Linked DNA regions of Homo sapiens: regions 1 and 3 are each linked to region 2. The links are contacts of gene promoters, found by promoter capture Hi-C in blood cells and fetal thymus (Javierre and others, 2016). All regions are on one chromosome and are shown on one strand. The core of a region is centred on a gene start or on the middle of the fragment in contact, and the rest is flanking DNA. Distances in the headings are between cores, read along the strand shown.

Evidence for each region. Contacts are between HindIII fragments. The CHiCAGO score rates a contact against its expected background, and 5 or more counts as called.
Region 1: a fragment that was not itself captured here is called in contact with the fragment with the promoter of NDST3 in region 2 in 1 of 17 cell types (megakaryocytes); the score reaches 6.5 in megakaryocytes.
Region 3: a contact is called between a fragment that was not itself captured here and the fragment with the promoter of NDST3 in region 2, in 1 of 17 cell types (megakaryocytes). The highest score is 5.4, in megakaryocytes.

The regions. Positions count from the first base shown.
Region 1 is chr4:117,119,426-117,123,812 of GRCh38, reverse strand. No RefSeq gene overlaps it. Among named protein-coding and RNA genes, the nearest start is that of TRAM1L1, 36 kb to the right of the region's middle. The HindIII fragment of the contact is 749 bases long and covers 1,345-2,093 here.
Region 2 is chr4:118,032,919-118,037,797 of GRCh38, reverse strand. It overlaps NDST3 (N-deacetylase and N-sulfotransferase 3), which reads right to left and starts at 3,312. Exons shown (of 14, transcript NM_004784.3): 1 at 3,206-3,312. The HindIII fragment of the contact is 5,573 bases long and covers 3,002-4,879 here.
Region 3 is chr4:117,141,724-117,146,397 of GRCh38, reverse strand. No RefSeq gene overlaps it. Among named protein-coding and RNA genes, the nearest start is that of TRAM1L1, 58 kb to the right of the region's middle. The HindIII fragment of the contact is 2,127 bases long and covers 1,890-4,016 here.

The DNA.
Region 1 (4,387 bases), core at 470-2,969, 910 kb after region 2:
AACATTGCTGTTATCTTGTTCTTTTTTCAAGGTGCCCAGATTTCATATTGTTTAAACACACATGCTCTACAATTTGTGCAGTTAATGCAATTATCACATGGTCCTGAGGTGACATACATCCTCCTCGGCTGACAGGATTAAGAGATTAAAGTAAAGACAGGCATAGGAAATCACAAGGGTATTGATTGGGGAAGTGATAAGTGTCCATGAAATCTTTACAATTTATGTTTAGAGACTCAGTAAAGACAGTCATAAGAAATTACACAAGTATTAATTTGGGGAACTAATAAATGTCCATAAAATCTTCTCAATCCACGTTCTTCTGCCATGGCTTCAGCTGGTCCCTCTGTTTGGCATCCCTGACTTCTCACAACAGTTAGTTAATATTTTTATCTTCTTTCCATATTATAGGTTTACTATGACTTCTGATATAGCTAATTAGGAAAGGCCTACCAGAATTGCAGAAGAAAAATAAAACTTCTAAAATGTGGTCAGTAAAAAAAAAATAGGGCCGGGCACAGTGGCTCACTCCTGTAATCCCAGCACTTTGGGAGGCTGAAGCGAGCAGATCACGAGGTCAGGAGATAGAGACCATCCTGGCTAACACCGAAACCCCATCTCTACTAAAAAACTACAAAAAATTAGCCAGGTATGGTGGCAGGTGCCTGTAGTCCCAGCTACTTGGGAGGCTGAGGCAGGAGAATGGCGTGAACCTGGGAGGCGGAGCTTGCAGTGAGCCGAGATTGAGCCACTGCACTCCAGCCTGGGCAACAGCATGAGACTCTTTCTCAAAAAAAAAAAAAAAAAAAAAAAAAAAAAAAAAAAAAAAATTCCAGGAAGCCAAGATTCTATAAGTCAAAGATTTTTAAATGCATAAACACAGTGAATTACTCATAAATAACTTTAGAAAAAAGTTGAAATTACAAAACTAGGAAAAGCCTATTTAAGATAATAAAGATAAATCTCCCTGTTTCATCCAAAGTAAAATACACTTGCCTCTATAATTTAAATAATAATTTCAAGAAATACATTTTTAATATCTTATATATGGCTAAAATATTCACTGTAGGTAGGATATAGGCTACATCACTCCAAGTGTACAACAAATTAATGTTATATTTGTTTTTAATGGTACAGTTTGAGTATCCTTTACCTGAAATGCTTGAGACCAGAAGTGTTTTGTATTTCAGATTTTTTGGTTTTCAGAATATTTTCATGTACATAATGAGAATCTTAGAGGTGAGATCTAAGCCTAAATATAAAGCTCATTTATATTTCTTATGCATATAGCCTAGAGGTAATTTTATATAAAAGTTTTAGTAATTGTGTGCATGAAATAAAGCTTGTGTACATAGAACCATCAGAGAGCAAAGGTTTCACTATATTCACCACCCATGTAGACAATCTGTGGTTTTTTTAAGCATCAACATCATTCCTGACTTTGAACTTATGTGCTATTCATGAGTGATCATTTTCATATACTTATTTACAGATAAGTAATTAACAGTTAAAAAAAGGCATACAATTAATAAAGTGAAAATTTGTCTTCCGGGTAGCTAAGCAACACAGCAGCATCACCAGAATACTTAGATCAGCTGTTAACAGCAACAACAAACAAGCCAGGCTTTTAGTTCCTACGTATAATGCAGTGTTTTAATTTAAAAGGTTTATGTACGTTATATATTATTTTAATTTTTTAGGTGAGAAAAAACATCAGATGAAGTCGAGGGACCAGAAAGTGAGTCTTCTAGGCATGAGGATCCATGCTCCTGGATGGCTTTTTAAAATGTTTCTTCCAGAATCATCTGCCTCATTAATAACAGTTTTCCTTAGAAGTCTCTCTTTGATTTATAAATTGACATATTTTTGTTTTGATATGAATGCATGCAGCTCTATTTCTTAAGGAGCCCATTACACGTTTTGACGTCATTTATACTTTTACCGCAGTTTTAACATCATCGTCTTCATCATGGCTATTATCATGATCACCTTGATTCATAATCATTTTGACTATTTTTGATTAGTCAATGAATAAACCACTGGAGCTTAATTTCTAATGTTAAAATTTTTTTTGATATCCACATCTTCAAGCTTACTGATGGATTCTGAAGCTATATTTTTTGCATATATAAAAGGTCAGACATCATTTTTACTCTCACTTGATGTATGAAATCCTAAAAAGTCACTACCTTGTTCATAATTATCACTGAATTTAGTCACAGGTCAGAGGTTGAGCAAGACATGAACAATTGTGTTTTTAATCACTGTGTTCTAAGCATTGCCAACAGAATATATCACATTTGTCTTGTTAAAATCATTCCAAGGCCAGGAGTGGTGGCTTACACCTATAATCCCAGCACTTTGGGAGGCCAAGGTGGGCAGATCACAAGGTCAGGAGTTCCAGTCCAGCCTGGTCAATATGGTGATACCCAGTTTCAACTAAAAATACAAAAATTAGCTGGGTGTGGTGGTGGGCGTCTGTAGTCCCGGCTACTCGGGAGGCTGAGGCAGGAGAATTGCTTGAACCTGGGAGGCGGTGGTTGCAGTGAGCCAAGATCATGCCACGGCACTCCAGCCTGGGTGACAGAGCTAGACTCTGTCTCAAAAAAAAAAAAAATTTCAAAAACTTTCCACACCATGCCTCTGTTCACTGATGCTATCATGTTGTTCAAGAAAGTGTTTCCTTATTTAATCAATCTAATGATACCCTGGTCACATGGCTGAATTTGAAAGAAGGTGCATGGCATAAACATTATTTTTGATGAGAAGTAATAACAGAACCTTACAGTTATTTAATCTAACTTTCCTGCAGTAAGCACAAGACTGTTATCAAATGTTTGTGAAACTAATCAGACAAAATTTCTCTAGTGATCTTGCCTTTTTGTTAGCATAACAATGGACTGTCAAGAAACTTGGCTGGGCACCTTGGCTCATGCCTGTAATCCCAGCACTTTGGGAGGCCGAGGTGGGTAGGTCACTTGAGGTCAGGAGTTCAAGACCAGCCTGACCAACATGGTGAAACCCCATCACTACTAAGAATACAAAAATTAACTGGGCATGGTGCACACCTGTAATCCCAGCTACTTGGGAGGCTGAGGCAGGAGAATCGCTTGAACCTAGGAGGTGTAAAAAACAAAAAAAGAAACTTATTCTCTGAAAATTTTGAGGACCCAAGCTTTTGCCTATCACAGCACGTTTACCCTCATGCATGCCTGTTGCATTAGCACATCCCAGCATAGTTATTCTATTTTTGGCATTCTTCATTTCTGTTGGCTTTTTCTCATCAGCTGTAATCAGTATCTTTCTGAGACAATAACACCAAAAAAGTGGTGTTTCATCAGTTTTATTGACTTGTTCTAGTGTCAGATTTTCATCAGTGATGACCTTAGCAAACTCATCAATGAATTTCTCTGCTGCTTCAGGATCAGTAGATGTTTTATTATCCCAAATCTTTCAAAATTTAATGCCATGTTTTTTCTTACATTTCTTCAACCAGTCTGATGAATATTCAAATTTCTCTTCAATTAGATATTTGCTTGTTTTATAATCAGCTTACCATCAAGTGCTGGTGTCCACTGTGATGCTGACCAATTCATTCTTTCAATACACTCTCAAGATCTCCAGTTTTAGTTTTATGCAGTGTTTTTCTATTTTTCACTGACTTCTGTTCATCACTTTTAGCAAAGAAATTCAACAGTTTATCCTCTGTTTCTTCAGGTCATATATGATGGTCATTCCAACATTATACTTTTCTGTGAGATGTTTCATGCTTACACTACTGTTCAGTTTCTTCAACAGCTTGACTTTCCGTGATGTAGATAAACAAAAATGCTTCCTTTTTTTCTTTATCACTGTTACCCATAGGGATATCTGCAGCCCGTTTTGACATTTTCAACCATACCTTTATACCCCAGAGCAGAGAAACAGAAAAAACAAAACACAGTGAATAGTGCATGTAGGTCTTGGACACATGTGAGGCATTATGGAAAATGCACCAATGGTACATCCAGCCTGCACATGTATCATGTTATTATACTCTGTGGGCTCACACAGGGGAGTCTGGGTATGTGCAGAGAAGATATATTGCAAAAGAAGGGGGATGGGAAGCTGTTCTTTCTACTAGGGACACTGAATAAACGGTGTTGCATATGGTGTTGTTCAACTGCATTTTGATTGGAATTCATCATATGAGGTCAGGTGTGGAATTTTCCACTTGTATTTTCATGTCAGCACTCAAAAAGTTTTTGATTTTGGAAGACTTCAGATTTCGGATTTTCAGATTAAGAATGCTCAACCTGTATTAGAATAATTACTCAATTAAATCAGATTTGTTTAATTCCTAATTATTTTATACCATTCATATTTTTTCATTTAACTTTTTTTATTG
Region 2 (4,879 bases), core at 2,063-4,562:
GAGACTCAACCTAACAGCAGTAGCAAAAGAGGAGAAAGAAATCACCTGAACTAGACTGTATATACTTAGCTAGGGAAGGCACCACATTTAATTGTCCTGTGGACTCCTTTATGCCTGGTGCAAAAGTAGATGCTTAGTAAATACCTCCTGGGTGAATGAATGAGTATTTCATATGTAAGGGAAGTGATGGAAATTGTTGGAGTGGTATATGGATTACCTCTGTTCCATCAAGAGGCATATCAAGAACAAATATTTGAAACCTATAGAGAGACAATGTAGTATAACGGTTAAAGGAATGTGTGCTGGAGCCGGACTCAAACTGCATACCAGCTTCAGCACTTGCCAGGGATGTGATCTTAGGCAGGTAGGTAACCGCTCAGTGCCTCAATTTCCTCATTTGTGAAACAGGAATAATATTTACCTTAAATAATCTTTGTGAAGATTATATGAGCTAAAAATTAATATGTAAAGTAGAACAGTGCCTGGTACAAGGTAACTATTCTATGAGTAAAAACTGTAACATCTCTACTTAGCAGAAATCTAGACAATAGTACTTATCACCAAGTTAAATTTTGTATTATTCACTGATGTTTTCTCATCTATCTTCGTCCTGGCCTCCAGATCAATTTCTAAAATGTTGAACAAACAGGATAAAAAAGGGTCTCTGGAATCCTCATTTTTCAGGTGAAGAAACCAAGCCCCAGAGCCAGCAAGGGAGCTGTTCAAGGCCACTCCTGTCTTGGCAGAGCCAGTCCTAGAATTTAGGTCTACTTTCATGTTATTTTCAAATATTTTAATGAAAAAAAAAATTCAGCAATGAAACACATGTAAAATGGATACCCATAATTGAGATGCTTAAAGGTTTTAGGATAGGACTGCAATAATTGATTTTTAAGCTCTTATTTGGCAACAGGTAATCAAGAATTATAGCCCTCAGTAATTTGTAGAAGATTTGGGGAAATAATTTCTTATAGACATTAATTAATTGTAGTAGGTCCTGACTACTTTTTTTTTCTTGTCCTGTAACTTACATGAAATCGATGAAAATGTTTAGAGTAACATGAAAGAATAAATCACTCACTGTGATATCCAGGTATCTAAGAGTATAGTTTTTTACTATAAACAAACAGACAAACCAAGAAATATTAAAATCACCCCTTTACGAGAAACTTCAGTCATGAAATAGTTTTGAGGATTGTTCAGACTAATTATCTTTATAATGTAGGTCGTTACTTTTGTGGCCTGGCAGCATTCCTAATCTGGACAGGTGTTCAGAGTTCATGCATTTCAGTGTGAATGCTCATTTATAATAGACACAGCACAGGGAAAGTAAACTTCTACTGTTTTCCCTTACTGTCAGAACTGTTAAGCAATTAGAAATTCAAGGCATTCATTTAGTTGAGAATAGTGTTTTTATCCTTAATTCAATTTCCCTGATTTTATAGTGTATATAAATCACAAAGTATTTACATATAGTTTAAAAAAATATATTTTGCATCTTAACAAATGCACTTTTAAGGCTCTAATCACCAAAAAGCAGCTGAAACTCAATCAGGTTTCAAGGAAGTCATATAATCAGAGTCCCAAGATTAAAAGAAAAAAAATTGTAATTTCTTTACAGTTTTAAAATTTTGAAATGACAGGTAGACAATTACATATTTACATTTTAGCTTATAATAACTTCTTTAGCAGAATATATGGTTTAGAAAAAGAATCTCCAATGCCTGATTATCTCTTCTACTATATATTTTTTAACAAACTTTTCAGTTACACCAAAAATTAATATTTGCCTCAATGTTCAGAAATAATGCTTTTCTCAAGAAAATTAATTTAAAAAGAGGGTATATATAACTCCACCAAACTAAACTATAACAAATATCTCCAGAAAGAGATAAAAGTTTTATTTTATCTAAAACATTTTAGTAATGTAAGAATTCTTCATTTTAAAGACTATGAAGAAAATTAACTCATGTGACAAGCTCAAAATTAACATTATTTACACAAAGAAACAAATCTTCTGTTTTACCATCAAGATGATAAAGAAAAATGATAACAAAATTAGAAATGGTAGATACTGTGTTAACCAGAGAAAGAAAAAAAAGAGCTTATCTTAGGCAAGCCTCTTTATATGTTCAGTACTATTTTAAAAAGGAGCCTCCTTCAAACTTATATTTGAAATCTCCATCTTAAATATAATATTGATAGGAAGGTATGGATGAAGAAAAAGGGAAAAAAATTCCCTTCAGCTGAATATCGGATATTCTAGAGTTTCTCTGCCATATCATCCTGCTCTCTGGTGGTGAACAGCATTGCTCAGTAGTTGATAACATGAAATTTTCTAAGGGCAAAAAAAAAAAACAAAAAAAAAGTGTGTGTCCCAGATCAGTTGCACACATCTCAATATTTGATTTGTATTTTAATTTAATACAAATGTATTAAGAATGTAGCTGTTTGCATTGTCTAGAAGGGTTTTCTTCTAAACTCTTCCAGATTACATGTTGCTATATTTCAATATGTTTATAAAGAATATAGATACTAATACATTTTCGACATTAAATAACTCTGATGCTTAAACAGTATCCAGCTATTAGAAAAACTATTTGAAAAAGGATCTGAGTAAACCCCTTAAAGATGTAACTTTGCTTTTACCTGCCCCCACAAAATGGATATATTAAATAGAAGATATATCTGTTTTCTTTAAATTTAAAGTTTCTGTATTTGATACCTAGATTGATTCTTTCCATTTCCATTTAATTTTATTAATTGTATAGTTTTAAATAATGTCTATAAACTGCATCAAATAGAAAGCCTTTTGAGGATCATTACTGTGTAGATAGGCAGGTAGTTTAAAGTCTCTGATATTCCTTACAAAATTCTGTCAAGGCAACAGACATGTGTTCTGTTAAACAGATCTACTTCAGAATCATTATAAGTTGGTGAATATCTTAAACAATTACAAGAGGTCATTTCTTTAGTACCATAATCTTATGAAAGGGAAGCTTTAAAATCATCCCTGAATGAGACGGTCCTTTGTTTCACTTAATTTAATCAAAATACTCTATATTTCTTCTTCAAGAATAAAATGAAGCACTTGTTCAATCTTGAAATTTTTAGATTATTTGAAAGCAAAGTTGTTATCTCTTAAAAGCCCCTACATTTATGAGTGAGGCATTAATGCACAGTATAAATAAATAAATACACTTACCTGGAATTAAAGTTCAGAGCTGAAAATGCTTGAGAAAGTTGCAATAGATGGAAAAGAAACGGAAACAGTACCACTCGTTACCATCGGCTCAGGCTTTTTGACTTTACAAGTGGTAGCAACACCAGTCCTGGCCCAGTACTCTCATGTTATGTAACATCTTATTAATATTAGCCATCAAACTGCTACCAAGCTGGTGAGGCACTAGAGGGCAAGAGTGTCACATGCAAGACCCGTCGCCAAGGGACCGGCTTTGGTACCACTTCGGGGGAAGACAGATGCTAACTAAGCTGATGAATAACAGGATGCCCGAATACAACAGCAAACTTGTAACGTTCCTCAAAGAATATTTTACATGTCAATTTTCTGACTAGCGGAAGAGTTAACAGGTTAATAAATATGAGCAAGCAAATAACCACACCATGAAAAACTTTTAGGATTATATTTACAAACCCACAGTCACTCAAGAGGCTGTTTGTTTTTTTCTTTCCATTGTCTAAATAAACTTATTTAAAACAGGAGAAAAAAGCTGGTTAAATAAAACGAGTGTCGGTTTCAGGACTCCCTCATTCCAAGCCGCGAGAAACTTGTCTGGTCGAGATGCCGCCTCTGGAGTCCGCATTCCAAGGCGCCCGGATCGGGTTTCTGGGCGAGGAGACCGGCCCCGTCCTCCATGGAGATTACCTGGGGCTGCAGCCGTCCGCGGGCTCCTCCTTCCCTCGGGTCTTCGGCCTCAGCCGCTCCCCAGGGCCCCTCGTCCGGGTGGCGCTTGGGTGCTACGCGGTGCCCGGGGTCCGGCGGGGGCGACAAGCGGGCGACCTCTCCCCTCCGCGCCCGGGATCTGCGCGGACACAGCTGGTGGCGACTTCGGCCGCTCAGGCTGCGGCTGCGGGGCGAGCGCAGCGGGTGCGCCGGGGACTCCTGCGCTGGAGAACCACGGCCCTGGGACCCGCCCGGCCGCGCCTCCGCCGCCCTCGCCACCGCCTCCCGGGCGGGAGCCGCCGCCTCCCAGCTCCCGGCCCGCGCGCGCCCGCCCCGGGGAAGGGGAGGGAGCGGGAGCTGAGGACGGGAGCCGCCTCCATCGACCGGGCTCCCGCCCGGACCGGCCCTGAGGATCTGGCTGCCCGGGCCTCGACAAGGAGACCCCGGGGGTTCCGCCCCGGCCTGCCAGTTCCGACCGCCCCTCCCGGCGGGTTGGCGGCGGCCGCCAAGGATGAAACGTCTTGTGCGGCCAGGGAAAGGGGTGCGAGTCCCCGAGGCGACGCTGGAAGGGTGGGGCGCACCCGCGCGGTCCCTTCCTGTGGTGCTCCTGCCGTTGGCACTGGACCAGGGCGGCTGCGAGGCTGCAAGAGTTTCCTCTGTTCGCCAGTTTTTTTCAAATGCCATGTGTTTCAGCTCCTGAAGACAAGTGGAAGGCCAGCAACTGAAGAGATATTTTGGATTCAAGGTGTGAGGTTACCCTCTCCAGAACTATAGTTTGATTAGAAGTGTGAATCGAATGATATATATTTTTAAAAATTTCATTTGGTTCCACTAACATGTGAATTGTATTAAGTGGGGTCTACTAATGATACTTTGTATTGGCCATTTGTGGTTTTGCTTCCCAGCACTCACTCTTGTTGAAACAGTACTCCTGTTCATTTTGGAAGATCCAACCACTTGATCTCACCCCGCAGC
Region 3 (4,674 bases), core at 1,704-4,203, 890 kb after region 2:
TGGAATCATTGTTGTGTCTTCTGGTGGCGGCATTCCTCCCTCTGGACCTAAGACCTCTAGGCAAGCTGAACGCAGGAACAGCAAGGAAAAATTTTGCTAGTGGGTCACTATGGATGATAACGAGTGGTGTCACTTCCACTTCTACCCTTTGATTCCTGAACTTGTGAATCCTGGCTATGGGAAAAACAGTACCATATATTGGACTCTGAGTGAGAGTATACACAGCTTTCTGGAAAACTTTGCCCCAGCCCTACAAACTTTGTCACTTAGTTGGCCTTCATTCCACCATTCTATCAATCCAGCTGCTTCAGGATGATGAGAAACACAGAAATGAAGAGTACAACTTTTAGATCATTCTTTAAACAGAAATAGTAACCAGCATTATTTAATCTACATCTAACATTAGTAAGTCTCTGTCCTAAGAAGATATAGTGTATTTTGATAAATATTTGGCATAATTGTGAAACAAACCAAAGATGTTTGACAAAATTCAACAGCAATTTCTGTTTTTAAAAATAATTTTTCATAATAAAATATAGTATTTACCAATGTAATACAGAATATCTATTTTAAAATAAGAACCAACGTAGTATCTAATGTTAACTTTAACTTGAAACATTGACTCTTATCTTAGTTCATTTTTCCTGCTAGACATACCATAGTCTGGATATCTTATAAGCACCAGAAATTTACTTCTCACAGTTCTGGATGCTGGGAAGTCCACGATCAAGATGTCTCCAAATTTGGTGTCTGGTGAGGGCCTGCCTTCTTATTCATAGGCAGAAACTTCTCTCTCTCTCCTCACATGGCAAAAAGGGGCATGGGGTCTCTCTTCGGACTCTTTTGTCAGGATAGTAATACCATTCAGGAGGGCTCCACCCTCATGACCTTATCAACTCCCAAAGGCCCCACCTCCTAACACCATCACCTTGGGGATGAGAATTTCAATTTATGAATTTTGGGGGGAACACAAATATTGAGACCATAGCAGCTCTCAACAAAGACTGTTATATTTTAACTGTGTTAAAAATACAATATTAATTGTTTTTGAAAACTAAAAGGCAATCAAGAATGGTAGAGAATAAGTAGAAAATTGTAGAGAATGGTAGTAAAACAATAGATAATGATATAAATTGAAAAGTAAAAATCTCATAATATCCTGCCACCACAGCCTATACACACCCATACATACAAACATTAAATCATATCTACCAGTGGCCACTACTGTTTACAGTTTGGATTGGGTTAGATCTCACCAGATCTTTTCGCCTTCCTTTTTTCCTTCATTCCTTCCTTTCAGTTATATAAAGATATGCCTATGTTTTTAGGTACACATAAACTTATTCAATATACATATACATAAAATTGACATTATACTTTATACACTGACATAGTATGTATATTTTTATCCAAATCAGCTCATATTGCACTTGTTTTTCTACAAAATATTTTTGCATCTAACAATATAGTAAAGGCAAGATTGCATATCAATACATAAAGATATTGCTCATTTTTTCATATTCATTTGCTTATTCATCAAAAATGGTTATTGAACATCAGTGTATTTTATTCTGTTTGTAAGGTACTGGAGATACGGCAGTGAACAAAACAGAAAATGAACACAGTGATTGAAAGTTTGTTATTTTATAAAAAGAAATAGAGAAATCCTAATGGTGCTTTTAGAGAAAAAGAAAACTGAGGGCGTGAAAATGTGGATATCAGGGAGAAGAACTCGTGGTGGAGGGACACATGATCAAAACCCAAGGATCAGGAGAGCTGAGGCACAACAGGCATGGGGGAGACTAGTACAAGGTAAGAACAGAGAGATAGAGATGTCTCCAAATTTGGTGTCTGGTGAGGGCCTGCTTTCTGATTCATAGACAGAAGCTTCTCCCTGTGTGTCCTCACATGGCAAAACGGGCACAGGGTCTCTCTTGGACCTCTTTTGTAAGGATAGTAATTCCATTCGGGATTTCAGCCTTTTTGAGTTATAGATCATTTCAGCCATTTTGATTCATAGTAAGGGTGTTGGATGTTATGCTGAGTGACATGAAATACCACTGGAAGATTTCAGCAGAGTGAAGCTCTGATATGGATGCTATTTTGACAATAGACCCCAGGAATGCAAGATTAGAAATAAGAAGATAAGGTTATAGGAGCTTTTGGAATAACAAGAAAAGTTGTGATAATAAATTGGACTAGAGTAAAAGCGTTGGATATAATAAAAATTGTTCAGTTATTGAGGGATGTCAAAATTGACAGCTGACAGGATTTGTGGAGATCTTGAATGTGGGTTCTGAGAGAAAAATAAGAGTAAAATATCAAACTTTTTTAATGGATGTTAATTCTATTCAACTCATCTTTAGCCTAAATTGATAAATAGCCATATTTTTGTTTATTTTTATTATGATGACAAATTTTATTGAGAAATATTAATATTGAATAATAGTTACAGTTCTCAAATATGGAGAAGGGAGATTGGTCTGTACTGTAGTTTTCTGTGACAGAGAAATAGCATTGCAGTTCTGTGGTCATTAGTTTGATGGAGACCTAAAATGTATTTCAAAGACCTTTTATTGTTCTTATTCTCTGTGATCTGACATTTGAAATAGCATTGGAGTGATGAGTTACTTACAGTTTTGGTGGAAGTTAAAAATGAAATTGAAGAATTTATACTTTCTATGAAAGGGAACTTTTGAAAGTTTTGTTTCTATTTCTCCTATAAGAAAAATTCATTTAAGTCTATTGCTTCTTTGTTTAATTGTCTCTGTATATATTTTCTAGAAAACCTCCTTTATAAATATATTCATATAAAACTATGCAAAGTTATGTTTTAAAATTTGTTTTAAAACTTTCACTGAATATTATTTCTCCAATATTAGTTCACTGGTATATACATGTTTCTCTTTTTCTTATTAAATGAGCTAATATTATAGCTATATGTTAGAACATTCAAAGACCAAATTCTTGAGCTTATTTTGTTGTTACCATTTTTCTGTTTTCATATCCTATCCATTGTTTTCTAACTTAGTGATTTATCTCTCTTGTTTTTCTTAGATTTATTGTGTTTTTCATTCTAAACTTTCTTTGACCTTAGATTATATAACTCCACTGTTTTGAAGTATCTGTCATTGCAGTAGAGAATTCTTATTCCTGATGTTCTTCCCTCTTTATGTACAAATGCTAAAAATATCAGAATGGCACAGGCACCAATTAATCAGAAAAGGCACTTGTACAATCAAAATGAGGTTTCCTGGTGTGTGGTAGTGGATTATGAGCACTGTTTATGGCTGCTTTGGATAACTTGAAGTCCAAGAAATTTTGTGAAGACTTGTCTCAAGGTTATAAAATCCATATATTTTACACTATAAGATGAACTCTTTCAACATATTGATTAACATCAAAAGCTGTTTGAATATTTTACAGAAACATTTGTTTTATTTCTTCTTAACTTGGATTAATTAGAAATGTACATTCATCTTTATTTGTCCTCCGTATTTATTATTTTTCAATGTTTTATCACAATTTGATAATTTATTTTAATTTTTTATGACTTACTATGTTTTTAGCAAAACTCATTATATGTGTGTATATATATGTGTGTGTATATATGTGTGTATGTATGTGTATACATATACAAACATATATATACATATGTGTGTATACATACTATATTAATACACACGTACACACATATATGTATATATACATATATAAACTACACACACATATACACACATATATCTGTGTATATATACACATATATATAAGTTAAACTATATGTTTACTATTGCTAGAAATGTTGCTATTTCTTTATTGGTTTTATTTTATTTTTAATTTATTTTCTGATTTTCTTCACCTAAGAGTCTGCTTCATCTGTTAGCCTATTATATCTTCCCTGAGCTCTTATATCTGTGCTTTGAATTTGGTAATATTTGAATAAAATCTTCAATTTCAAAGCTGTATATTTTAATTTTGGCTTGCAATTTATTTAGTATTGTATTTTATGCAAAGCTTTCTTCACCATCAATTTGATTGTATTGTTTCTTTTTTCTTTCTAAATCATGCTTTATAATTTACATGATTATGGAATGGTTCTTTTTGGTTTATTGATACTTTTTTGAATTTGCAATTGAGACATCCTAATTGCACATATTTATGAGGTATCGTGAAGTTTTGACACATGTATACATTGTATAATAATAAAATAAGGGTAATTACCATATCCATCACCTGAAACATTTATCATTTCTCTTAACAAGAACATTCAAAAACCTCTCCTAGGTATTTTGAAATATGCAATACATTATTGTTAACTCTATTCTATTGTGAAATAGAACACCATGACTTATTCCTCCCATCTAACCATAGCTTTGTACCTATTGACCAATCTTTCTCCTCCTCCACCCACCCTCCTTACCCTCTGGTAATCATTACTTTACTCTCTACTTCTATGAGAACAACTTTTTAGATTGCATATATGAGTGAGATCATGTGGTATTTGTCTTTCTGTGCCTAGCTTATTTCGCTTAGCATAATGTCCTCCGAGTTTGTGCATATTGCCACAAATGACAGGATTTTAGAATTTCTTGTGGCTGAATAGTAGTCTATTGTGTATATGTGTAGACATACACCACATCACATTTTCTTTATCCACTTATCGGTTGATGAACA